Linked DNA regions of Homo sapiens: all the other regions are linked to region 1. The links are contacts of gene promoters, found by promoter capture Hi-C in blood cells and fetal thymus (Javierre and others, 2016). All regions are on one chromosome and are shown on one strand. The core of a region is centred on a gene start or on the middle of the fragment in contact, and the rest is flanking DNA. Distances in the headings are between cores, read along the strand shown.

What was found. The method cuts DNA at HindIII sites, captures the fragments that hold promoters and counts their contacts. A CHiCAGO score of 5 or more calls a contact.
Region 2: a fragment that was not itself captured here is called in contact with the fragment with the promoter of ANKS3 in region 1 in 1 of 17 cell types (M1 macrophages); the score reaches 5.4 in M1 macrophages.
Region 3: a contact is called between a fragment that was not itself captured here and the fragment with the promoter of ANKS3 in region 1, in 2 of 17 cell types (megakaryocytes and M1 macrophages). The highest score is 5.6, in megakaryocytes.

The regions. Positions count from the first base shown.
Region 1 is chr16:4,732,737-4,736,079 of GRCh38, forward strand. It overlaps ANKS3 (ankyrin repeat and sterile alpha motif domain containing 3), which reads right to left and starts at 1,535. Exons shown (of 18, transcript NM_133450.4): 1 at 1,202-1,535. DNAAF8 (dynein axonemal assembly factor 8) reads left to right here and starts at 1,801. Exons shown (of 10, transcript NM_139170.3): 1 at 1,801-1,962. RefSeq lists silencers at 1,321-1,380, 1,431-1,660. The HindIII fragment of the contact is 25,292 bases long and covers 1-3,343 here.
Region 2 is chr16:4,816,987-4,820,088 of GRCh38, forward strand. GLYR1 (glyoxylate reductase 1 homolog) reads right to left here. Exons shown (of 16, transcript NM_032569.4): 10 at 612-711. Among named protein-coding and RNA genes, the nearest start is that of ROGDI, 16 kb to the left of the region's middle. The HindIII fragment of the contact is 2,515 bases long and covers 498-3,012 here.
Region 3 is chr16:4,834,137-4,837,244 of GRCh38, forward strand. All of the region lies in intron 3 of GLYR1 (glyoxylate reductase 1 homolog), which reads right to left. Among named protein-coding and RNA genes, the nearest start is that of GLYR1, 12 kb to the right of the region's middle. The HindIII fragment of the contact is 1,433 bases long and covers 893-2,325 here.

The DNA of each region.
Region 1 (3,343 bases), core at 285-2,784:
GTGTGGTGTAAAGTAGCATTAGAGATAAGACGTTTTAGTTTTCATTCAACTTTTTGGTTCTGTCCATTCTGAAAATGCTAAGTATCTGTTACCTTTACAGTGAATCCTAAAGAAAATGTGGTACTTAGACACAATGGAGTACTATTCAGCCATAAAAAAAGAATGAGATCCTATCATTTGCAAAAACATGGATGGAAGCGGAGATCGTTATGTTTAGTGAAATAAGCCAGGCACAGAAAGATAAATATTGCATGTTCTCAATTATTTGTGGTTATCTAAAAATCAAAACAACTGAACTCATGGACATAGAAAGTAGAAGGATGGTTACTTCTAGTGTAACCAAGGCTGGGAAGGGTAGTGGAGGGTGGGGATGCTTAATGGATACAAAAAAAACAGAATGAATAAGATCTAGTATTTGATCAAGCCACTGCACTCCAGCCTGGGCGACAAAGCGAGACTCCGTCTCAAAAAAAAAAAAAAAAAAAAAAAGATCTAGTATTTGACCGCACAACAGGGTGACTATAGTCAATATAATCTAATTGCACATTTTATTTATTTATTATTATTTTTTTTGAGACATAATCTCACTCTGTTACCCAGGCTAGAGTGCAGCGGCGTGATCTCGGCTCAATGCAACCTCCGCCTCCTGGGTTCAAGCGATTCTCCTGCCTCAGCTTCCCGAGTAGCTGAGATTACAGGTATGAGCCACCATGCCAGCCTAGTTTTCGTATGTTTAGTAGAGACGAAGTGTCCCCATGTTGGCCAGGCTGGTCTCAAATCCTTGACTTCAGGTGATCCGCCCGCCTTTGCCTCCCAAAGTGCTAGGATTACAGGCGTGAGTGAGCCACCGCGCCCGGCTGCACATTTAAAAATAATTCAAAGAGTATAATCATATTGTTTGTAACACAAAGGATAAATGCTTGAAGGGATGGAGACCCCCATTTTACATGTGATTATTACGAACTGCATGCCTGTATCAAAATCTCTCATATACGCCATAAATATATACACCTACTACGTACCCACAAAAATTAAAAAATTTTTAAAAATCTTAACAAATGTGATGCTGGTGGTAACTGTCACGCCCACAGAGGAGGTCTGTGAAAGCACCCAGGCACCCCCTCTCGCCCCGTGGAACCGCATCGCAAAGGTAGCTCACTGGCCCCGGGGCGGGTCCCTGGCCGACAAACCCGTAACTCACAGCAGTGACGCTTCCCGACGCCCCCCGGCCACATCCCCACAGGAACGCTACGGCGCACAGGGCATTACTGTGCCCCCACCACAACCACATAAAGAAAATGTGGGGGCTCGGTCCTCCAGTCACGCGGCGAGCAAGTGCAGCGCGGGACGCCCGAGCGCCGGGTCTAGGCGGGCTGCAGGTGCCGGCAAGTGCTGGGGCCGGGCCGCCGCGGAACCCACCTGTGCTGGGCCTCAGGCCTTGCGCCGCCCTCGGGCTGCCGTCGCCAACCCCCCCCAAACAGCTCGCCGCCACGCTCCCTCGCCGGGGCACCGCCCCCGGCACCCGCCCCGGAAGTAGTTGCGGGAGGGCGCGGAGCACGCCGGGAAGCTCGCGGGTCGGCACCGGGACAGCTCCCGGGCGCCGTGGAATGCACACGTCCCGCACCCGGACCTTCCGGTCAGCTTCCCGGCTCGCTGTCTGATGCCCGCGGTAGCCAATGAGCTAGTGGTGTTTGTCCTGCTCCGTCCCCGCCCTCCAGGGGAACCAATCCCATTGCAGGAGAGGCAGGACGCGCAAAGGCCCGAAAGAGGAGCTGGGCGGGGTGGGGGGAAGGCGGAGGCAGTCTAGTAATGTAAAGCTCCGCTGAGAGGGAGAGTGCTGAAGAAGGGGACAGCCTCTGTACCTGCGGCGCGGCCCGAGGGGCGGACGCGAGCGGAGTGACGCGCTGGAGGCTGTTTATAGCGCTGTCAGGACAGCGCGGGGAGTGGAGGCAGAGGCCTGAGGTGAGGGGCCTCGGGCCTGCTGCGCCTGCAGGGAGTTGAACAAAACGCGGGGAAATACGGGCTGGGGGTGGGTGAGAGGAGGAGCGATGGGCTTTCCACTTCCACAGCTTTAAAATTTAAAAGCTCGACCCGGGAGGCTGTTGGCGTCTGGTTGCCATAACAACCGGCAGCCTCGTGGCAGGCCGGCTGGGGGCGGGGCTCTGAGAACCGGGGCGGGGCTGTGGCGGGGCTAACAGGCTGCAGCTGAGAAACCCACCCCGAGACGGAGCCGGAAGGCCGTTATTCAGAGGCGGCTCCGAGCCTCCCCTTCGCCTTCTGGATGCTCTGAGCTCCTCAACTTGGCGTTCAGGGCCCTGCATTGTCTGGTCCGTTTTCACCGGAGAGTCCAGCAACTGACACTTTCTTCCCTTAAACCTGTTGGGCGGTTCATTCCTTTGAGCTACTGTACATGCTCTTCCTTCTGCCGGTAATGCCGTTCCCTCCCCTATTGTCTTGTCCGCCTGAAGGGTTTATCAGAGTCTCTGGAGGCCCTCTTCATCCCGACGATTCTGTTGCCCTAAGAAATACTGTGCCCTGAATTGCGGAACAGAGCTCTAGTTACAAAAAACACCCGCTGGCTGTGTGCACCAGATGCGTCCCCAACCCGCTGCTCCCAGTTCAGAGTGCACCAAGCACCTGCCCTATTCCCAGAAGTACAGAGGAAGCAAGCAGCCCCCAATTCACATCTCCTGCCGCTGCCCTGATTGGGGATGAACGGGCACTGACTGCAGGGCCAAAGCCACAGCGGCCTCTCGAGCTGCAGAGTTCTCCTGACACTGGCTCTAGAGGACCCTCACCCCCCAGCTCTCAAGCTCAAGCTCCCCAGCCCCCTGAATAACAGGACCATCTCCTTTAAGACTCTAAGATATAAATGCAGGGGCTGGTCAGAGTAGTGACTCCAAAAAAAAAAAAAAATCACTTAGTGACTCCAAACTGTCAGCCAGGCGCGATGGCACATGCCTGTAATCCCAGCACTTTGGGAGGCTGAGGCAAGAGGATCACTTGAGGCCAGGAGTTTGAGACCAGCCTGGGCAACAGGGAGACTCCATCTCTACAAAAAATAAAAATGTTAGCCAGATGTGGTGGTACACACCTGTAGTCCCAGTTATTCAGGAGGCTGAGGTGGGAGGATCACTTGAGCTCAGGAGGCCGAGGCTTCAGTGAGCTATCATTGTACCACTGCACTCTAGCCTGGGCGACAAAGCCAGACCCTGTCTCCAAAACAAAAAAGCAAGGTGTCTTCTGTTCCTTGGTAAAGGGCAGTAAAGGGTAGTAGGACTTGAAATTCCCCCTGATTCAGAGTCCACTGTTGCTATTTACTAAACACCCTGAGCCTATGAAA
Region 2 (3,102 bases), core at 505-3,004, 84 kb after region 1:
AGGCTGGAGTGCAGTGACACGATCTCAGCTCACTGCAACCTCTGCCTCCCACATTCAAGTTATTCTCCTGCCTCAGCCTCCTGAGTAACTGAGACTACAGGTGAACGCCACCATACCCAGCTAATTTTTGTATTTTCTATTTTTTTTTTTTGAGACGGAGTCTTGCTCTGTCGCCCAGGCTGGAGTGCAGTGGCGCGATCTCGGCTCACTGCAAGCTCTGCCTCCCGGGTTCATGCCATTCTCCTGCCTCAGCCTCTGGAGCAGCTGGGACTACAGGTGCCCGCCACCACGCCCGGCTAATTTTTTGTATTTTAAGTAGAGACGGGGTTTCACCGTGTTAGCCAGGATGGTCTCGATCTCCTGACCTCATGATCCGCCCGCCTCAGCCTCCCAAAGTGCTGGGATTACAGGAGTGAGCCACCGCGCCAGGCAAATGTTTAGGTTTTATAATAACATCCTAAGTTTAGGCATCTACATCTCTACCTGCCTGGACTAAAAGCTTGGCTTCTATTCTATTGCACGCAGAACGCTGAGACAACAGGGGGAGATGTCCACTCTTAGGGTTACCCCAGACTCCACCGATCCAACAGGCACCACCCCTGAATGCTTACTTTCTCTGCAGTGCGGTTCCAGACAGTCACTGTGTGACCCATTTTTAGCAAGTTGGAGACGATTCCACTTCCCATGAGACCAAGGCCCAAAAATCCTATCCTGAAACAGAGAGAGACTGATGAGTTCAGGGTGGAAAGGGAGGGTCACGGTGATGATGATTCCATGCAGCACAAGGCTCGCTCCCTTATACAGCTTGGGGTAGGGGAATTCAGACTGCCAGAAACAGCAGTGGCCAATCTACCTGCAGAGCCAGGGGCGTCATGCACATGGGTCTTCTCTTATGCCATGGTCTAAAGCTGTCCCAGGATGTAAACAGGCATTTTGAAACCCCTGACTGTCACAGAAAAAAGTATGATGTGTATGGTTCAGGGCCAGTCTCCCAGGGCAAAGTCCCCTTGCTGCCCTTTTTTTTTTTTTTGAGACAGTCTTGCTCTGTTCCAGGCTGGAGTGCAATGGCGCGAGCTCAGCTCACTGCAACCTCTGCATCCTGGGTTCAAGCGATTCTCCTGCCTCAGCTTTCTGAGTAGCTGGGATTACAGGCGCACGCCACCATGCCCAGCTAATTTTTGTATTTTTAGTAGAGACAGGGTTTCACCATGTTGGCCAGGCTGGTCTCAAACTCCTGACCTCGTGATCTGCCCACCTCGGCCTCCCAAAGTGCTCGGATTACAGGCGTGAGCCACCATGCCCGGCCTCACACTTTACTTATTTTTTGAGATAGTGTCTTGTTCTGTTGCCCAGGCTGCAGTGTAGTGGTGCAATCATGGCTCACTGCAGCCTCGACCTCCTGGGCTCAAGTAATCCTTCCCCCTCAGCCTCCTGGGTAGCTGAGACTACAGGCATCTGTCAGCACACCTAATTTTTTGTGGAGATGGGCTTTTGCCATGTTACCCAGGCTGGTCTTGGACTCCTGGGCTTAAGGGATCCGCCCACCTCAGCCTCCCAAAGTGCTGGGGTTGCAGGTGTGAACCACTGCACCCGGCTCTGGATACTACTTTAAAGCCCAACAGAATCCACCACAAGTCACTGAAGCACTGTGTTTAGAGCCAGGCAACTTCCTTGACTGCATGAACCAGGACGGCAATTTTCACCTCTCTTTCCCAACTTCAATTCTCTACCCACACCCTACCTTTCCCGTCTTCCCGTTATCAACAGAATGGGCCTTGCCTCTCCTCTCCAAAGCTAAGTCCTTCACCTGAGCTTGGAACCCAATCTTTCCCAGTCCACAAATCCTTCTCCCCATGCCTGCCTTCCCCCAAACCTCTCACTGTTCCCCCAGCCCTTCCTTCCACAGGTCCTTCCCAATCCTTGTGACAGAAGCACTCATTGGCCAGTCTCCTCCACACACATTCACATACTCCGCCTGCTCCTTCCTGCAACCCTGAGAGCTGGGGGCTGGATGCCACTGCTGCTATTTCAACATGCTTTTACGGATGACTTTTAGCTTGCCAAAGTGTCTTTTCTTGATTCTTGTACTTCTTCACCTCTCTTTGCAAGTGACAATGGTGCAAAAGAATGCCTTTCCTCATTTCTGATCATATCATGTTCTTGTTTTTATAGTTTTTAATTTTTATTTATTTATTTATTTAAAAAGAGAGATGGGGGGGTCTTGCTATGTTGGCTAGGCTGGTCTCGAACTTTTGGTATCAGGCAATCCTCTCACCTCAGCCTCCCAAAGTGTTAGGATTATGGGCGTGAGCCACTGCACCCAGCCTTTTTTCTTTTTTTAGTGACAGCATTATGCTGTCTCCCAGGCTGGAGTGCAGGGGGGTGATCATAGCTCACCGCAGCCTCAAACTCCTGGGCTCAAGTGATCCTTCCACCTCAGTCCACCTGAGCAGCTAGGACTATAGGTGCATGCCACCATGTCTGGCTAAGTTTTAAAATTTTTTTGTAGAGACGGGGTCTTGCTGTATTTCCTAGGCTGGTCATGAACTCCTGGCCTCAAGGGATCCTTCTGCTTTGGTCTCCCAAAGTGTGGGGATTACAAGGATGAGCTACTGCGCTTGGCCATGTTTTCAATTCAGAAATTCTCTGACTGCTGGATGTCCCCGGCAGCTCCTCCACTTTGACCCTGTCATTCTTTCCATAGTTTTGGTCTTCTGGAACCATCTCTACAAATGGACCCCTAATCTCAGCTGGAATATCAGCTGCTCACATTCTCCCTGTCCCAGCCTGTATTAAGTAATTTGAATCACATGTTGAAAATGGAACCCACCAACTTTCTCACCAAAATAGACCTCCTTGCTAACTGCTTCAAGTTGTGGCTTAAAAACAAGGAGGTACCTTTTTGTCACTCATTATTTGGGTAGTACAATATTCCCCCATGATTCTAAATCATGACAGGCGAATTCCCTTTCCTTTCTTGGTGTTCTAGGAAGTCCAGTAGACCTGGGATAAAGCTTCTGGATTTTTTTGAGACACAGTCTCGTTCTGTTGCCCAGGCTGGAGTGCAGTGGTGCGATCTTGGCTCACTGCAACCTCCACCTC
Region 3 (3,108 bases), core at 359-2,858, 100 kb after region 1:
GGGGTCTGTGCAAAAACACAGACCTGGGATCATCGGCCTGCAGATGTCAGGCAGCGAACCACTATCAGGCATGCCACCATGGCTAAGTGAGATGATGAATGGAGATACAGAAGCTGGTCTCCCTGGCACAGCTCCAACTAGAGGAGTTAGGCAAATTCCTTTTTTTTTTTTTTTTTTTTTTGAGACGGAGTTTCACTCTTGTTGCCCAGGCTGGAGTGCAATGGGGCGATGTTGGCTCACGGCAACCTCGCCTCCTAGGTTCAAGTGATTCTCCTGCCTCAGCCTCCCAAGTGCTGGGATTACAGGCGTGAGCCACCACACCTGGCCTTTTTTTTTTCCTTTTTGAGACAGAGTCTCATTTTGTCACCTAGGATGAAGTGCAGTGGCACGATCTTAGCTAACTGCGACCTCCGCCTCCACCTCCCAGGTTCAAGCAATTCTGCCTCTATCTCCCGAGTTGCTGGGACTACAGGTATGCACCACCACACCCAGCTAATTTTTATGTTTCTAGTAGAGACGGGGTTTCCCTGTGTTGGCCAGGCTGGTCTTGAACTTCTGGCCTCCAGTGATCCACCTGCCTTGGCCTCCCAAAGTGCTGGGATTACAGGTGTGAGCCAGCAAACTCCTTTCCAGTGACCAACTCATCTTAAAGTTTGAAATTCAACATGAGAGCGCCAATGAGTCCAATCTGCTGGGAGGAAAAGTGGAAGGAGATTTCGACCCCAGATTTTCTGGCAAGAATATCCCTGAACTGACTCCGTTCCCTCTCCTTACAGGGATGCTAATGACAGGCCAGAGCAATCAGATGCAAAGTCAGACCCAGCCCCAAAAGCCAGTGAAGCTACCATACTAACCCGTGGGTCTGAGATGACACAACCAGTATCAAGGATGAAGCTTAAGGAGTCGTGACCAGCCAGTTCTTCCTAGGAGCTTCTGGTCAGAAGCTGAGAACCACACAAGTTCCCAATATAGGACCAAAAAGGTGATTTTTATGGAACCCCTTGAGATGGGACAACAGACTCCGAGACTTGCTAATCCCACCCACGCCATCCTGCTACCTCCATCCCTGCCTCCCACTACCCAGCCTCACAGGAACCCGATTCTGAGGGAACAGAAAGGTGAGGATGTCTGTGAAGTGCCAAGGAATCAACCCCATTTTTTGTTGAAGCATCTTACAAGGTTTACTGATTTCTGCTAGAAGGAACTGTACAGTCAAAATTCCACTCACTTTAAAGCATTTGAGATACTAAAATTTTCCTCTTTACAACCATCTTCGAAACATTAAAATGGCTAAATGAACTGACAGTATGAATAGGATGGTAAATCCAAGAAATGTTAATCTATTTAAGGAATCAACTTATTGCTGGAGAAGCATCCTGTTACATCAAAAAACAGCCATAAAAAACCAGCTTGGCTGGGCACGGTGGCTCACACCTGTAATCCTAGCACTTTGGGAGGCCGAGGCAGGCAGATCACCTGAGGTTAGGAGTTTGAGACCAGCCTGGCCAACATGGTGAAATCTCGTCTCTACTGAAAATATAAAAATTAGCTGGGTGTAGTGGCACGCAGCTGTAATCCCAGCTACTCGGAAGGCTGAGACAGGAGAAACACTTGAACCCAGGAGGCGGAGGTTGCAGTGAGCCAGTATTGTGCCACTGCACTCCAGCCTGGGCAACAGAGTGAGACTCCACCTCAAAAACAGTAACAACAAAAAAACCCAGCTTACCAGAGCTCTATGGGGATTACCTCTTGAAAGCAAACCAAACTTAAATCACTTTGGCTATCTGAATACAATTTTTTCTCTAAAGGTTACACTTCTTTCATCTTTTTTAAATTTATTTTTTATAGAGATGGGGTTCACCATGTTGCCCAGGTTGGTCTCGAACTCCTGAACTCAAGTAATCTGCCCACTTCAGCCACCCAAAGTGCTGGGATTACAGGTATGAGCCACTGCAACTGGCCTACCTCTGTCTTTTTAATGAGAATATGCTTTTCAGTTGGCGCCTCAACAATGCACCACTGTCTAATTCACGGAGGCACATCAGCCGGGCCTGGCACACCACTGGTCCTCAATAAATAATCACTGGGTAAATGATTCCTTCCCAGATGTTCAGGAGGATGTACTGCTCACCAGTGAGTTAAAAGGTGCTACAATGCTCCAGTGCGTAAGGCTTTAGTGTTTTTGTTGTTGCTACTGTTGGTTTTTTAAGTGACTGTTTCTTTCCTTGATAGAAGCTGTAACTTTTGATTTTCCTATCATCCTCCCAAGACTTAGATGGAGCTATATCTTTCAGCCCAATTGTGGCTGGGAAGTCAGAAAAATCAAGCTTATTCAAGCTGTATTTAAAGTAGGAGACTTTGCTTTTTATGTACAGTAGAATGAATGACACATTGTGATAGTAAATAGCTGAAAACAGGCAAGGTCATTACAGAGAAGGAAAGCGGATGTCTCGTAAGATATCTGGCTACGTGGAGATGAGCAAGATAAAAAGCAATGCATGTTATGTGCTACCACTCGTGCAAAGACAAGGAAAATGGACTGACCACGCACTGATATCTCTGGAGGGACACATCATCAGAAACTGGTCTAACTGGGTGGCTGTGGGATGGGGATGAATGCAACTGTTTCAATGTTGACAAGTTTTTGTTTTTGAATGGTGAACACATATTATATTGGAAAAAAAAAAAAAAAACAAAACAAATCAATACTAAAGGCCTCTGCCCTAGAACACAGGCTATGCCGACTGCCCAGAGGGTTTCCTCCATGACTTCCTGGTTTGCAGGTTTGCTCTGGTGGGTTGCTGCTGCCTGGCTGCTGGCATAACTGCACCTGTAACACAGCCAATTTACCCTGGTGACCTGACACTCTTCCTATAAAAAGTCTCTTCATCTATGAATACAGAACCGCCACTAAGGCACTCTCAGATTACTCCAATCAAAATGAATTAAAATCTGGTATTTTCAAAAACTTGCACACTTCTGATTTGCTTTCCTCTTAAATGAAAATCATACATGTAGGGCCCGGTGCGGTGGCTCATGCCTGAATCCCAGCACCTTGGGAGACCGAGGCAGGTGGATTGAGGCCAGGAATTCGACACCAGCCTGGCC